Linked DNA regions of Homo sapiens: all the other regions are linked to region 1. Evidence: promoter capture Hi-C in human tissues and cell types (Jung and others, 2019). All regions are on one chromosome and are shown on one strand. The core of a region is centred on a gene start or on the middle of the fragment in contact, and the rest is flanking DNA. Distances in the headings are between cores, read along the strand shown. Region 1 holds the start of SLC6A13 (solute carrier family 6 member 13). Region 2 overlaps IQSEC3 (IQ motif and Sec7 domain ArfGEF 3). Region 3 has its middle 9.1 kb from the start of IQSEC3.

Region 1 (4,525 bases), core at 1,428-3,927:
TTCTTTGGGCTACAATCCAATACTATCATTATTCATTTTGTTGTTCAAATTATTTCAGTTATAGCAAAAGCCATAATTTGTTGTTTAGTCTGTTCTACTTGCTCTTTTCTTTTCTTTCAGTGTGATGTTTGAAAAGGGATCCAAAAAGTCAACAGGTTTCTGACTCCTGTGGTTAAACAGAACTATATCTCTTAATTTAAAGGTCTCCAGAGGAGAACCCACCACTTCCTTTGCCACCTTGATGTTGCTCAGAAATGTTCTTTCTTGAAACAAATCGTGCTGCTTTTAAAATTTGTTTCTGTGAAATGTCAAACTAGAAAAAAATTTTATTTGTTCTTATTCCACTCCTAGTAGAGTCAAACAATTTTTGGGAGAGCGTATCATGGCGTACTGTCATTTAAACATACCTGGGATCAACTTGGTACAAACCAGGACTCCTAGGCCTGCTTTTTGCGTGGTTCACTTTGTTTTATACAATCCTGTTGTTGGAAGCACAGCCTTCAATTATCCTCACTGACAATCTCTAGTGAGTCTTAAAACTTATGCAGCCTCTTGAGTAAGAACTGTTGAATACGGATTCTGTTGTTACCTGTTTTCAGGTTTCTTGACTTTGCACCCAGCAGACCAAAGGATGATGGCAACGTGAGGTAGATGCAAGGCTAGTCATGCCTGTTTTGTGTGGAACCCCAGACGGGAAGTTGTGAGGGACTGTCGCCAACATTTATCTACCAGTGGTTCTCAAGCTTTTTTTTTTTTTCTTTAACTTTTGTCAACCTAAGCAGGACAAAAAACCTACCATAGCCATTCCCACTTTATAGAGGAAAAAGAAATTGGGGATAACAAAGATTTGGAGAGGAATAAAATAGGAGTCAACATGGTAACATGGCAGCAGTTATGTAAAAACAAAAGAGTTGGTAAGTAAAGCCAACATTCCTTCATACAACAGCAGCAGCTCACAACCAACTCAGGATAAGCCTGATGATGTCCTTATCACTGACAGTCTTTCCTGGAAGCTGGAAATTGCAACCGTTTGCATATGTGAGGACACAGAAGGGGCTGTGCAACATTGCCAAAGGCTGAATGGTATCTGAGAAAACACCCGTTATCTGGTAATTTTAGATTACAAATGCCAAAGTTTATAATGCATAGTAGGCCATTAGTAAGTACCACTCAGTGATACGTAAAAATGGAAGTCAATAGCACTGCTTTGAAGATGGTCTTTTTTTTACATGAGTTTGTAGGCTGTCTCAGGACGCTTTTGGTTTATTGCTTTACAGAGCTCAGTCTAACAGATGAAAGCTTGAAAGGGGAGAGGAACAGGGGCCGCTGAAACATAAGAATAATAATTTCCAAGAAGCTTCTGGGAAGCTCTCCAGGTATTACCATGCAGTGTTTCCATGCCCCTACCCCATGCCCTTGAGTTAGATGAGGGATCAAGGAAACGGAAACTACCTTAGACTCTTCGATCCGTCTTTCTTTCCACACTTCTCCGTCATCTCAAGATGTCTCTATCACCTCACTCACTCATTGCCGCATCCCCTACCTAACTCATTCTCACAGTCTGGCCAGAGCCCAGCTTAGCTCAGGGGTCTCTCAGTCCCGTCTCCTTCAAGAAGACTTCCGGGCTCACTGCTCACTGTGAATAATCCCTTAAGGATGAATAACAGCTGCCATTTACAGTTAGTCATCATCTCCTGAAATCTCAAGCTAGACAGTGGCATACGTAGGACTCAGACCCCACACTCTCTGGTGTCAAAGTCTGAGCAGGTTTCCACTACATGTACTGTGCTTCAGCACATGGCTGAGGTGGGACTCTGCCCTGTCCTAGACTCCAGGCTGAATGAACTACTCTCACAGCCGCCTCTGTGGGCTGTTCCTGCAGAGAAACGAAGCTCCCTGGATGACCTCGGCCTCGCGCTCACCGCCTGCTCCTTCCCTTATAACAGCTTTAGGGCTTTGCTTTATTTTAAACGTTGGCACTTCCTTTTCTCTATTGATTTAAAAAATATTTTAAAATTCTAGCATATTAAAAAATCTAAACAATATTGAAAAAGTGGGGAAAAAATCTCCCTTACTGCCATCTCCTGATCTCAGTTCCACTCTACAAATGTAACTACTATTAATCATTTAGCGAAGATTTTTTCAGACTTTTTCTATATGTGTATAAATGTCTGTGTATGTTTGGGAAGTTTTTCTGACATCTCAGAGTTCTGTATCTATGTATCTTTGTTCTAAATCATCGTCCATTCCACATTGCAAGCTGCGAAACGGTAAGATAAATGTATTTTTAAATTAATCTACACAGCACCTGACCAAAGGAATACCTATTCTTGATGGATTTATAGGAGCACTTGTGTTGGAGACAGGGGTGGGAGGCAGGATCCCTCCAGAGAGACCCTGAGCTCACCAGGTGGGAAGCGCACATGAGCTCCGGGGAGGAGACCACACTTCATAAGCTCACCAGCAACTGGCCCGACCTGCCAGGGCGTGCACACTCCCCAGACTGCGAAATCACTCATGTGTGGGTTGTCCAGTGGCCGAGGGGAGGGGAGGGGAGAAAAGGGGAGGGGGAGGCACAAGGGTGGAATGTGGGCTGGGCCAAGTTTAGAATTTCAAGTGCCACAGAGGCGTTCTGGAACCACACTTTAAATAGCCAGCACCTTCTCCTTCCCCCTTAGATAATTCTTCTCCCCTGACTGGACCTCTGGCAGCAGCTTCACTAAGGTTCGAAATGTTTTCTTCTCTTTTTTTTCTATTTCTGCGTCTCAGACTGCAGGTTGGTGGGATCCATGGGACTTACAACCAAAGGACTTTTTTCTTACCCTCGCCTAGAAAGTACGCTTCTGACATGTATGTGTGCAAATGCAAAGATTATGTGCTATTTTCTTGACTTTCTGAAACTTGGGTGGCTGTTGACTTAAGTGACACTGTGATTTGGAAAGAGAGAGCCCTAGATTGAGAGGAAAGACAACTGGATTTAACTCCAAGAAAACAAAGTCTTTCTTCTCTGAGAAAAGAGAACAATGATCAACTCTGACAGGACTGAAAGAAAACAAAAATTTGAGTACCTGTTATTCTATTAAGTGTGTATACATATGTATATTTCCTCATTTAATTCTTATAGCTAAGTATATCCTATCTATCATCCCCACTTTTACAGATGAACAAACTAAGGCTCAGAGTCATTCATTAACTTCTCTGAAGTCAGACATTGGTATGAGAAAAAACTAATGTTTGAACCTGGCCTCATCTGACTCTACAGCTCATGACCTTTCAGACACAACATGCTACCTCTGAGAAGCAGCTCTAATGAGGCTAAGGGAGCCAGGAGAAGGCTACTGTTTCTCCTAGGGTCTGGGAGGGTGGAGAAGGGAAGGCTTTCCATCACTGGGAGAGATCCATCAGCTGGTAAAGGGAGGGGAGGCCAGCACAGTCAGTACCTTAGACAACCTTCCCAAAAGGACTGAGGAGCCCTCTTGGGACCAGTTACTTGAGTTTCTCCTTTGTAGAAAGGAGCTCATTCCCTAATTTATCAGATAAACATAGATGCCTGCTGTTCCCTGACTTTTTTTTTTTTTCTTTTTTTTGAGACAGAGTCTCGCTTTGTTGCCCAGACTGGAGTGCAGTGGCGCGATCTCGGCTCACTGCAACCTCTGCCTCCTGGTTTCAAGCGATTCTCCTGCCTCAGCCTCCTGAGTAGCTGGGATTACAGGTGCCTGCCACCATGCCCAGCTAATTTTTGTACTTTTCGTAGAGACGGGGTGTCACCATGTTGGCCAGGCTGGTCTCAAACTCCTGACCTCAGGAGATCCACCCGCCTCGGCCTCCCAAGTGCTGGGATTACAGGCGTGAGCCATTGCACCCGGCCTGTTCACTGACTTTCTAATTTTCTGGGTCAGAGCCAAAGTAGAGTCTGTGGCCAGAAGAGGTTACTGCTGAGAAAGTTCTGTTAACATGAACTTTGCTTGAGGCTTAGAAAAAAGTCCATCTGCCTCCTTCTCCAGAAAAGAGGCCACTCTGCAAAATCAAGGCAGAGTCATTAGAAGATGCTTTTAGTAGACACACCAGTGAACCTAGGCAGCCAATGTAATCAAAGGGATGGAACTGAAAGAGCAGGGGCAGAGTGGGTTTAAGTCCTGGCTGTGCAAGTTAGTAGCTATATGGCAGCAGCAGTCACATTATTTAACCTCTCTGAGCTGCAACTTCCTTATTTATAAAGTGGAGGTAATAATGCTTACATCTCAGGGTTGTTGTGAGAATTAAATGAAAAGAATGTATGTGAAGTGCCTAGTCTATAGTAGTTGCTAACTAAATGTGGGCCACGTCCAGTCATCCTCAATCCCAACAGTGGTCTGGAATGGGCCATTTCTGACAGTGAATGGTTAAAACTGTGGCTTTTTATTTATATCATCTTCTCTACTGTCACAGACTCCTAATTTGTCATCACCAAAAAAGAAAAAGAGCGCATAGTAAATCTCTGCCTTACGCTGATTTCAGAGAGACATAGAAGGAGTACTTAGACCAC
Region 2 (4,291 bases), core at 170-2,669, 180 kb after region 1:
ACTCAAGGTGCAGAACAGCATATAGGATACTAGTATCTCTGTAAAAAGAAATAAACATTTTGCTTAAATGTACATATAGCTGGAAAGACGTGAGAAATAATAGTGGTTGCTGGAAGGTGTGGGGGCGGGCAGGAATTCGAGTGGTTAGGAAACAAGGATGGGGGCGATGCTTTTCACTGTAAACTCTTTTCTTTTGAATCTTGTACTAGGTCAATGTATTGTCTATTTGAAAAGAGTAAATCAAGCTACTCTGGAGGCTGAATTGGGAAGATTGCTTGAGGCCAGGAGTTCGAGACCAGCCTGGGCAACATAGGGAGGCCTCCGTCTCTACAAAAACAAAGAAAATTAGTCAGGTGTCGTGATGCATGCCTGTAGTCCTAGCTACCTGGGAGGCTGAGGTGGGAGGATCACTTGAGCGCAGGAGTTCGAGGCTGCAGAGAGCAATGATTGTGCCACTGTACTCCAGCCTGGGTGACAGAGTCACCATCTCTTAAAGAAAGGAAAAGGTGAATTACATTAAAAGCAAATTACATTAGCAATTTTGTGTGTATGTTAAAAGCCACCTGTACAAGTACAGGTGGCCAGAAGCCAGAGTCCTTCAAGTGAAAGAGCCCTGAGGCTTTAGCTGACCTCATGTGTGATAGGTCCCATCTGTGGCTGGGGCTGAGAAAGCCAGTGGGTCCCTAGCCACCATCCAAAGCTAGGCGGGGGGTGAGGGAGGGCCTCCCTGTGCCCAAAGCTGGTCTGGCCACAGCCCCTGCGCTGCAGGGCTCACTCCCAGCTCCCTCTGTGTTCTCGGAGAGCAGTAACCCAGGTGAGGCAGGGCCACCCGCAGAACCATGAGGAGCAGGAAGTGCCAGGATCAGGTATGTTCTCCTGAAAGTAGATGGCGGAGGGGTGTCAGTGGACTGGAAGGCAAGGGAAGGGAAGGATGGCTATCTGCCTTCAAATATTTGAAAGGGTGTGAAGTCAAACAGGGAAGGAGTCCTGTTCAGAGCCCCTTAGAAGATGCCGGGGTCAGGGTGGGGGGTGGTGAGGCCTCTCACCTTCAAAGAGCACCTTCTGCCACTGGAAGGGTCCCAAAGTGACAGCAACCACCCCGCGTCGAGCCCTCACTGCGTGCCAGGCACTCGGCTTGCCTGACGCTTTACTGGCATCACCCCTGAATTTTCCCAGCAATCCCAGGAGGGTGGTACCATTCGTATTCCTTATTTTACGAACGGGAAACGCGAGGCTCTCATTGCTTGAGATCACACAGCTAGTGAACGACTGAGTCGAGATTCAAACCCAGGGCCCTGCTCAGAACTATTATGCCGCACCGTAGGCTGAGGAGACCTACAGCCCTGGGAATTCTAAGACTGTGATGCGATAAAACACAAACATAAACATGAGAAGGCCAAGATAAGGCTGGGAGTTTTAAATTTATTTTTTTTTTTTGCTGAGGTGTCTTGGGTACAAGGAAGACAGGAAAGGTGGATGCTGAGTAGAATTTGTACCTCGGTGTCACCGTCCTCATCCCCGACCCCTCCTAGCCGCCCCCGCCTCAATGTCCCCTTCTTCTCCAAGGCAATCTACTCGCACCATCACACTAGCCCCGGCTGCGGCCCGTGGAGGCCGAGGAGGGGCGCGCACCCAGCACCCAGCACCCGGCCCGAAGGCCGCGGCCCCGATGCTCCCCGGGCTGGCGGCGGGCGGTGCCGCAGCGCCGAAGCCCCTTCCGAGCCCCCTCGGGCCGGGAACGCGGGAGGAGGCGGCGCCCTGCGCCGGGAGGCCCCAGACACCGTGGGCGGGCGGCTGTGCGCGGGGGTTGGGGCGCGGGGAGGCGGGGGCGCCCGGGCCGCGCTTCCCTTCGCGGGTGACTCAGCAGCCGCCTTCCTCAGCGGGGCGGCGGGGGCGCGCGGAGGCTGTGGGCACGCGGCTTCCCCGCGCCGGGGTGCAGGTCCTCGCCGCCGCCCCCGCGAGGAAGTGCGAGGCTGGACGCTGGGAGGGGGCGCGTGGGCCGGGAGATTCCTTCTCGCCTGCCGGCTGCCAGCCGGCCCGCCCACGCCGCCGAGATCCCGACTCCACGTTCCCTCCCCACGTAGGAGTCGGGGCAGCGCACGGAGGCGGAAAGGCTTTCCCCAGGCTGGCCCGGCGAGGGTCGGGGGCGCAGGGACTGAGGGGACACCCCAGGGGGGCCAGCTGCACCCCCGCCCTCCCCTCCTGCTGCTCCCGGGTTTTACGCACTCACGGTCGGAGGGAGCCGGCTGGAGATTTCTGGGGTCTTAGATGTGGAAGTCCGTGCAGAATTTACCTCGTTCTGCCCCAGGGCCCCCGGGTACCTGCCACCTTTTGTTCTTGAAAGGGAGAGATGCCCCTCTGCTGAGCCAGCTGGAGCGTCCTTTCTGTGGCTCTTGCCGTGTAGAAGTCTTTTTTCGTATCTAAGCTCGGTCCCTCCTGCTGCGGTGACCCCCAGACAGCTCTGCTTCGCCAGACTCGGCGACTGGGTAGAGTGGGCAAGAAGGAGGACCAAGAACGTCCCCACTGAGCAGGAGGGGAAATCAAGGCCCAGAGAAGGGGAGGGGCTTCCTTCAAGCTTATAGCTGGGGGTGTGTGAGAGAGGTGCTGACCTCAGTACTCAGGAGTTCCGGCTTCTAGGTCAGAGTCCAGCTGCTTGAAAAGATAATATTCCTCCCTGGTGCTGCCCAGCGCAGTGCCTCTACCTGTCTCTGGAAATCCCTTTGGCCTTCTCTGATGGGTTCTTACCATGCGTTAAGTCGCATCAAGACTGTCGGAGATGCCAGATGATGCCGGTTCGGAAGCATCCAGGGTAAAGACCGGGCTGTGCGCGGGAAACACGGAGGCTAGACCCAAGCAGGAAATTCCCACCCGCTTTGCAGAGTTTTTGTAGCTGCTGTTTTTAAATAATCATTGGTTGATTTGATGCATTGAATGAAAATTGTGGTAGATAGGAATCATTCATCAAGGAAGAAATTGTGGAACTCCCTTGTCTCTCTGCCTGGGATGGGGCGTGCATTCCTGATTGGAGGCAGGTGGTTGGCTGGTTTGACCTGGTGCATCCAAAGCCCTGAGAGGTCATTGGTACCAGGCCCTGGCCACAGCTAGGCCGAGATATCCTGCAGGGAAAATCACACTACAGCTTTGTGTGTGTCTGGCCGCCCCGTACCTGAGCTTCCAGACACTATACCTCCGTAGAGTTCAGTGGCACAGCTCCTGTACCTGTCCCCTTCCACACAGCCTTCTTCCCAGGAGCTCACGCCTCTGGGGCCTGGTCTCCCGCATGCTCCAGACAGAGTGGGTATGGAGGCGTGGTAGATTTGCCCCATTTTACAGAGGGGAAGAACCAGGAGGATCTGGCTAGCCAATGGAGATGAAACACTTCATGCAGAGAAAGGAAAAGGAACTGGGAGTGCTGATGGCGTGACCAGGCCAGGGGTCATTGGGAGATACTGAGATAAAGCTATGCTGATCTTTGCTGTGAAGCCTATGCATCTTTAGTATAGTGTGGGTTGTCCTCCAACTCCCCCAGCCCAAGTCAGTAACACACAGTTGCCCACGCAGTCGTGCCCACTCAGGTCCACAAACGCCTGCGCACCACCTGCTCACCGTCCCGTCACGGTATTGACACTTCCCTGAACACAGCTGATCCTGCCTGGTAAGGGGCCTGGAATCTGGGTGCTGCTGGTTCATGACCCCGGAATCCAGCTCTTTCCTCTCTTTTCCCCCAGAGATACGGCCACAATGCCAGCCTCCTTTCCCTCCTGCCTTCATAGGCCCATTGCCCGTTTCTCACTCCACCTGCTGAGGCCTTGTGTGTGTGTGTGTGTGTGTGTGTGTGTGTGTGTGTGTGTGTGTGATGAAACTCTCACTGCAGAGATTTGTTCTTAATGCAGCTTCCTGGGCTGACAGAGTGGTCAGAGGCTGGGGGCAGAGGGAGTAGAGGGCTCTCCCTGCTCATAGCTAGGATTGGGGTCGGTTCTGTTTATTGCCGGGGGCAGTCTTCTCCTCACCCCTCATCCGTCTCACACCCCAACCAGCCTGAAGAACTGAACCTCTGAGAGCAGCTTTCCGCATGGGCTCAGCTTCAGGACAGTGAGCTGTGCTGTTGGACCCAGGGGTCCTCCCTTCTGCCCAACTCTTCCTCAGCCCTGATACCACAACCCACCTCCACTCAACAATCCATGAGCCTGCCTGGGCCCTACAGACGGAGAGTTTATGTATTCAACCAGTATTTATCATGCACCTTCTAGGTGTTGAGTTTGACTCTCATCTCCCATCCCCTTCAGGCTCG
Region 3 (4,571 bases), core at 1,910-4,409, 210 kb after region 1:
ATTTTTAGTAGAGACGGGGTTTCTCCATGTTAGTCAGGCTAGTCTCGAACTCCCAACCTGAGGTGATCTGCCCGCCTTGGCTGAAGTTTTCTCTTAGCACTGTTTTTGCTGTATCCCAGAGGTTTTGATAGGTTGTGTCACTATTATCATTCAGTTTAAGGAATTTTTAAATTTCCATCTTGATTTCATTGTTGACTCAAACTTTGTTCAGGAACAGATTATTTAATTTCCATGCATTTGCTTGGTTTTGAGAGTTCCTTTGGAGTTCATTTCCAATTTTATTTCACTGTGGTCTGAAAGAGTACTTGATATAATTTTGATTTTCTTAAATTTATTGCAACTTGTTTTGTGGCCTATGTATGATCTGTCTTGGAGAATGTTCCATGTGCTAATGGATGTTTTTAGGGTATAGTTTAAGTCCACTGTTTCTTTGTTGGCTTTCTGTCTTGATGACTTGTCTAGTGCTGTCAGTGGAGTATTGAAGTCCCCCACTATCATTGTGTTGCCTTCTATCTCATTTCTTTGGGCTAGTAGTAATTGTTTTATAAATTTTGAAGCTCCAGTGTTAGGTGCATATATATTTAGGACTGTAATATTTTCCTGTTAGACTAGTCCTTTTATCATTATATAATGCCCTTCATTGTCTTTTTTAACTGTTGTTACATTAAAATCTCTTTTGTCTGATATAAGAATAGCTACTCCTGATCACTTTTGGTGTCCATTTGCATGGAATATCTTTTTCCACCCCTTTACCTTAAGTTTATGTGAGTCCTTATGTGTTAGGTGAGTCTCTTGAAGACAGCAGATACTTGGTTGGTGAATTATTATCCATTCTGCCATTCTGTATCTTTTAAGAGGAGCATTTCAGCCATTTACATTCAATGTTAGTATTGAGATTTGAGGTACTATTCTGCTCATTGTGCTGGTTGTTGCCTGAATACCTTGTTTTTTCATTGTGTTATTGTATGGTCCCCATGAGATTTATGCTTTAAGGAGGTTCTATTTTTGTGTATTTCAAGGTTTTGTTTCAAGATTTATAACTACTTTTAGCAGTTCTTGTAGTGCTGGCTTGTTGGTAGTGAATTCTCTCAGTATTTGTCTGAAAAAGACTTTATCTTTCCTTCATTTATGATGCTTAGTTTCACTGGATACAAAATTCTTGCTGGATAATTATTTTGTTTAAGGAGGCTAAAGATAGGATCTCCGTCCCTCCTGGCTTGCAGAGTTTCTGCTAGGAAGTCTGCTGTTAATTTAACAGGCTTTCCTTTATTGGTTACCTGATACTTTTGCCTCACATCTCTTAAGATCCCTTTTTTCTTTTCAACTTTAGATAACCTGATGACTATGTGGCTAAGTGATGATCTTTTGGTGATGAACTTCCCAGGTGTTCTTCGAGCTTCTTGTATTTAGACGTCTAGATCTCTAGCAAGGCCAGGGAAGTTTTCTTCAATTATTCCCTCAAATAAGTTTTTCAAACTTTCAGATTTCTCTTCTTCTTCAGGAATACCAATTACTCTTATGTTTGGTCATTTAACATAATATCAAACTTCCTGGAGGCTTTGTTCATTTTTAAAATGCTCTTTTCTTTGTCTTTGTCAGGTTGGATTAATTCAAAAGCCTTGTCTTTGAGCTCTGAAGTTCTTTCTTCTACCTGTTTGATTCTATTGTTGAAACTTTCCAGTGTGTTTTGCATTTCTCTAAGTGCGTCATTAGTTTCCAGAAGTTGTGATTGCTTTTTAATTATGAGATCTATTTATTTGGAGATTTTTTTCATCCACATCCTGTATTATTTTTTAAGTTTCTTTAAGTTGATTTTCACCTTTCTCTGATACCTCCTTGAGTAGCTTAATAATTGACCTTCTGAATTCTCTTTCTGACAATTCAGAGATTTCTTCTTGGTTTGGATCCATGTTTGCTGGTGAGCTAGTGTGACCTTTTGGGGTGTTATAGAACGTTGTTTTATTATACTACCAGAATTGTTTTTCTGGTTCTTTCTCATTTGGGTAGACTATGTCAGAGGAAAGATTTGGGGTGCAAGGGCTGCTGTTCAGATTTGTCCCACTGGCGATCCTTTGATGTGGTGCTCTCCCCTTTCCTCTAGAGATGCGGCTTTCTGAAAGCTGGACTGCAGCGATTGTTATTGCTTTTCTCGGTCTAGCCACCCAGCGGGGCTACCAGGCTCTGGGCTGTTACTGGGGAGTGTCTGCAAAGAGTCCTGTGATGTGATTCATCTTCAGGTCTCTCAGCTGTGGATACCAGCACCCGCTCAGCTGGAGGTAGCAGGGGAGTGAAGTGGACTCTGTCAGAGTCCTTGGTTGTAGTTTTGTTTAGTGTGCTGTTTTTCTCGAATGCTGGTTATACTAGCAATGAAGTTGCTACATGGACAGACTCAGGGCCTCTGGGGACCCAAGATGTTACAGGCAGTGGAATTGGCTGTTGTTTTCTCCTTTTTTGGAGCAGTGCTGTTCTGTTATGAGTTGCTGTAATGGCTTGAGTTGGTTGGCCTCCCACTAGGAGGTGGTGCTTTCAAGAGAGCATTAGCTGTGGTAGTATAGGGGTGGATACAAGCTTGCTCTAAGGTCACCTGGGTAAGTATTTGGGTTTCTCAGGTGATGGGCAGGGCCATAGAGCTCCCATGAGTTCGTCTTTTGTCTTCAGCTACCAGGGCTGGTAAAGAAACACCATTAGGTTGGGGCAGTGTTAGGCATGTCTGAGCTCAGACTCTCCTAGGGCTGGGCTTGCTGTGGCCACTGTGGGGGATGGGGGGTTGTTCTCAGGTCAGTGGAGTTATGCTCCAAGAGGGATTATGGCTGCCTCTGATGCTTCATACAAGTCCCAGGGAAGTGGGGGAAAGCCGGCAGCAACAGGTCTCACCCAGCTCCCGTGTAGCCAGCAAGGCCAGTGCTCCTGTCATGCTCTCCCGACAGAGCTGAATTTATATCCAGGCCTCAGGTTTGCAAGGCTGAGATATTGCCCCAGGCTACAAGCCTCTCTGCTGAGAAAGCAAGCAGGGCTTTCAGGTCTCACCCCTCTCTGCTTGCCTTGGCTTCTGTGCTCATATCTGCACTTCCCGTTTTTGCCCTACCCCACAATGCTGTCCAGGAAAATTCATGCTCAGTCGAAATTATTACAAAGTTCTGCTGGAAGTCTCCTCCTTGTGACCCTTCCCCAGTCCCACTCTCTGCCCTCCCTGAGGACCCCTGTGAGAGAAAGTCAGAAATGGCTTCCCTGGGCTTCCCTGGGGGCTGGGAGTACTTACAGAGCTCTTCTCACCGCTGCTTCTACTTTTATATTTCACTCGGCTCTCTAAATTTATTTCACCTCTACGTAAGGTTAAATCCTTCTCCTGTGATCTGGATTTTCAGTTTCCCCAGTAAGGATGTGTATTTGGAGGCAGACCTTCCCCCTCTCACACTTTAGGCACTCACAGTTTTTTGGCTGTCTCATGAAGTTTGCAGCGGCGAGCTGCTTCTTTCAAAGGGTCTGTGAATTCCTTTGGGTTTCCTGGTATGTTTTGCGGTAGTTCTTGGAGCAAAAGTTCATAATGTGAGTCTTCACACACTGTTCTGTCTCCATCTGAGTGGGAGCTGCAAGTTAGACCTGCCTCCTATTTGCCATTTTTTTCTGAGTCCCCTTTTTTAGTTTTTTGAGACAGGGTCTCACTCCATCACCCAGGCTGGAGTGAAGTGGTATGATCACAGCTCACTGCAGCCTCAACCTCACAGGCTCAGGTGATCCTCTCACCTCAGCCTCCCTAGTAGCTGGGACTACAGGTGCATGTCACTACATCCAGCTAATTTTTGTATTTTTTGTAGAGACAAAGTTTTCCCATGTTGTGCATGCTGGTCTAAAACTCCTGGGATCAAGCAATCTGCCTTCCTCAGCCTCCCAAAATGATGGGATTACAGGTGTGAGTCACCATGCCTGGCCATGTTTTTCTTTTTTGCTCAGCATAATACTTTTGAGGTTCCTCCATTCTGTTATAGGTATCATTCATTTGTTCCTTTTATTTTAGAGTTGTACTCACAGTAGATGTACCATAATTCATGTCATCAACTGTTGATGGACATTTTGGTTGTTTCCGGATTCTGGTTATTTTGAATAAAGCTGCTGTGATTATTAATGGACAAGTTTTTGTGGGGACATATATTTTAATATGTTTCATGTGTTTTATTAAGAGTAAAAACATAGAATTGAAATTGCTAGATCATATAAAAGTATGTATTGGCTGGGCGCAGTGGCTTATACCTGTAATCCCAGCCTGGATCATGAGGTCAGGAGATCAAGACCATCCTGGCTAACACGGTGAAACCCTGTCTCTACTAAAAATACAAAGAAATTCGCCAGTCATGGTGACGGGCACCTGTAGTCCCAGCTACTCGGGAGGCTGGGGCAGGAGAATGGTGTGAACCCGGGAGGTGGAGCTTGCAGATAGAGTGGGTGAGTTGCTTGAAGTGACACAGCCATGGAGGCACAACTAGGGCTGAAACCCATGCCTCCTACCCTAAGCCCCGCCCCTATTTCTCTGCACCACACATTAGGACGTCTGATGTGAAGAGAGTACCTGGGGC

What was found. Contacts are between HindIII fragments. The study calls those that stand out against the background at their distance.
Region 2: a contact is called between a fragment that was not itself captured here and the fragment with the promoter of SLC6A13 in region 1, in 3 of the 25 tissues and cell types used here (aorta, dorsolateral prefrontal cortex and mesendoderm cells).
Region 3: a fragment that was not itself captured here is called in contact with the fragment with the promoter of SLC6A13 in region 1 in 5 of the 25 tissues and cell types used here (dorsolateral prefrontal cortex, hippocampus, liver and 2 more).

What each region holds. Positions count from the first base shown.
Region 1 is chr12:260,988-265,512 of GRCh38, reverse strand. SLC6A13 (solute carrier family 6 member 13) reads left to right here and starts at 2,677. Exons shown (of 15, transcript NM_016615.5): 1 at 2,677-2,724. The HindIII fragment of the contact is 8,106 bases long and covers 1,022-4,525 here.
Region 2 is chr12:75,652-79,942 of GRCh38, reverse strand. The region is part of intron 1 of IQSEC3 (IQ motif and Sec7 domain ArfGEF 3); the gene reads right to left. Among named protein-coding and RNA genes, the nearest start is that of IQSEC3, 11 kb to the right of the region's middle. The HindIII fragment of the contact is 4,163 bases long and covers 1-3,500 here.
Region 3 is chr12:55,391-59,961 of GRCh38, reverse strand. No RefSeq gene overlaps it. Among named protein-coding and RNA genes, the nearest start is that of IQSEC3, 9.1 kb to the left of the region's middle. The HindIII fragment of the contact is 6,090 bases long and covers 115-4,571 here.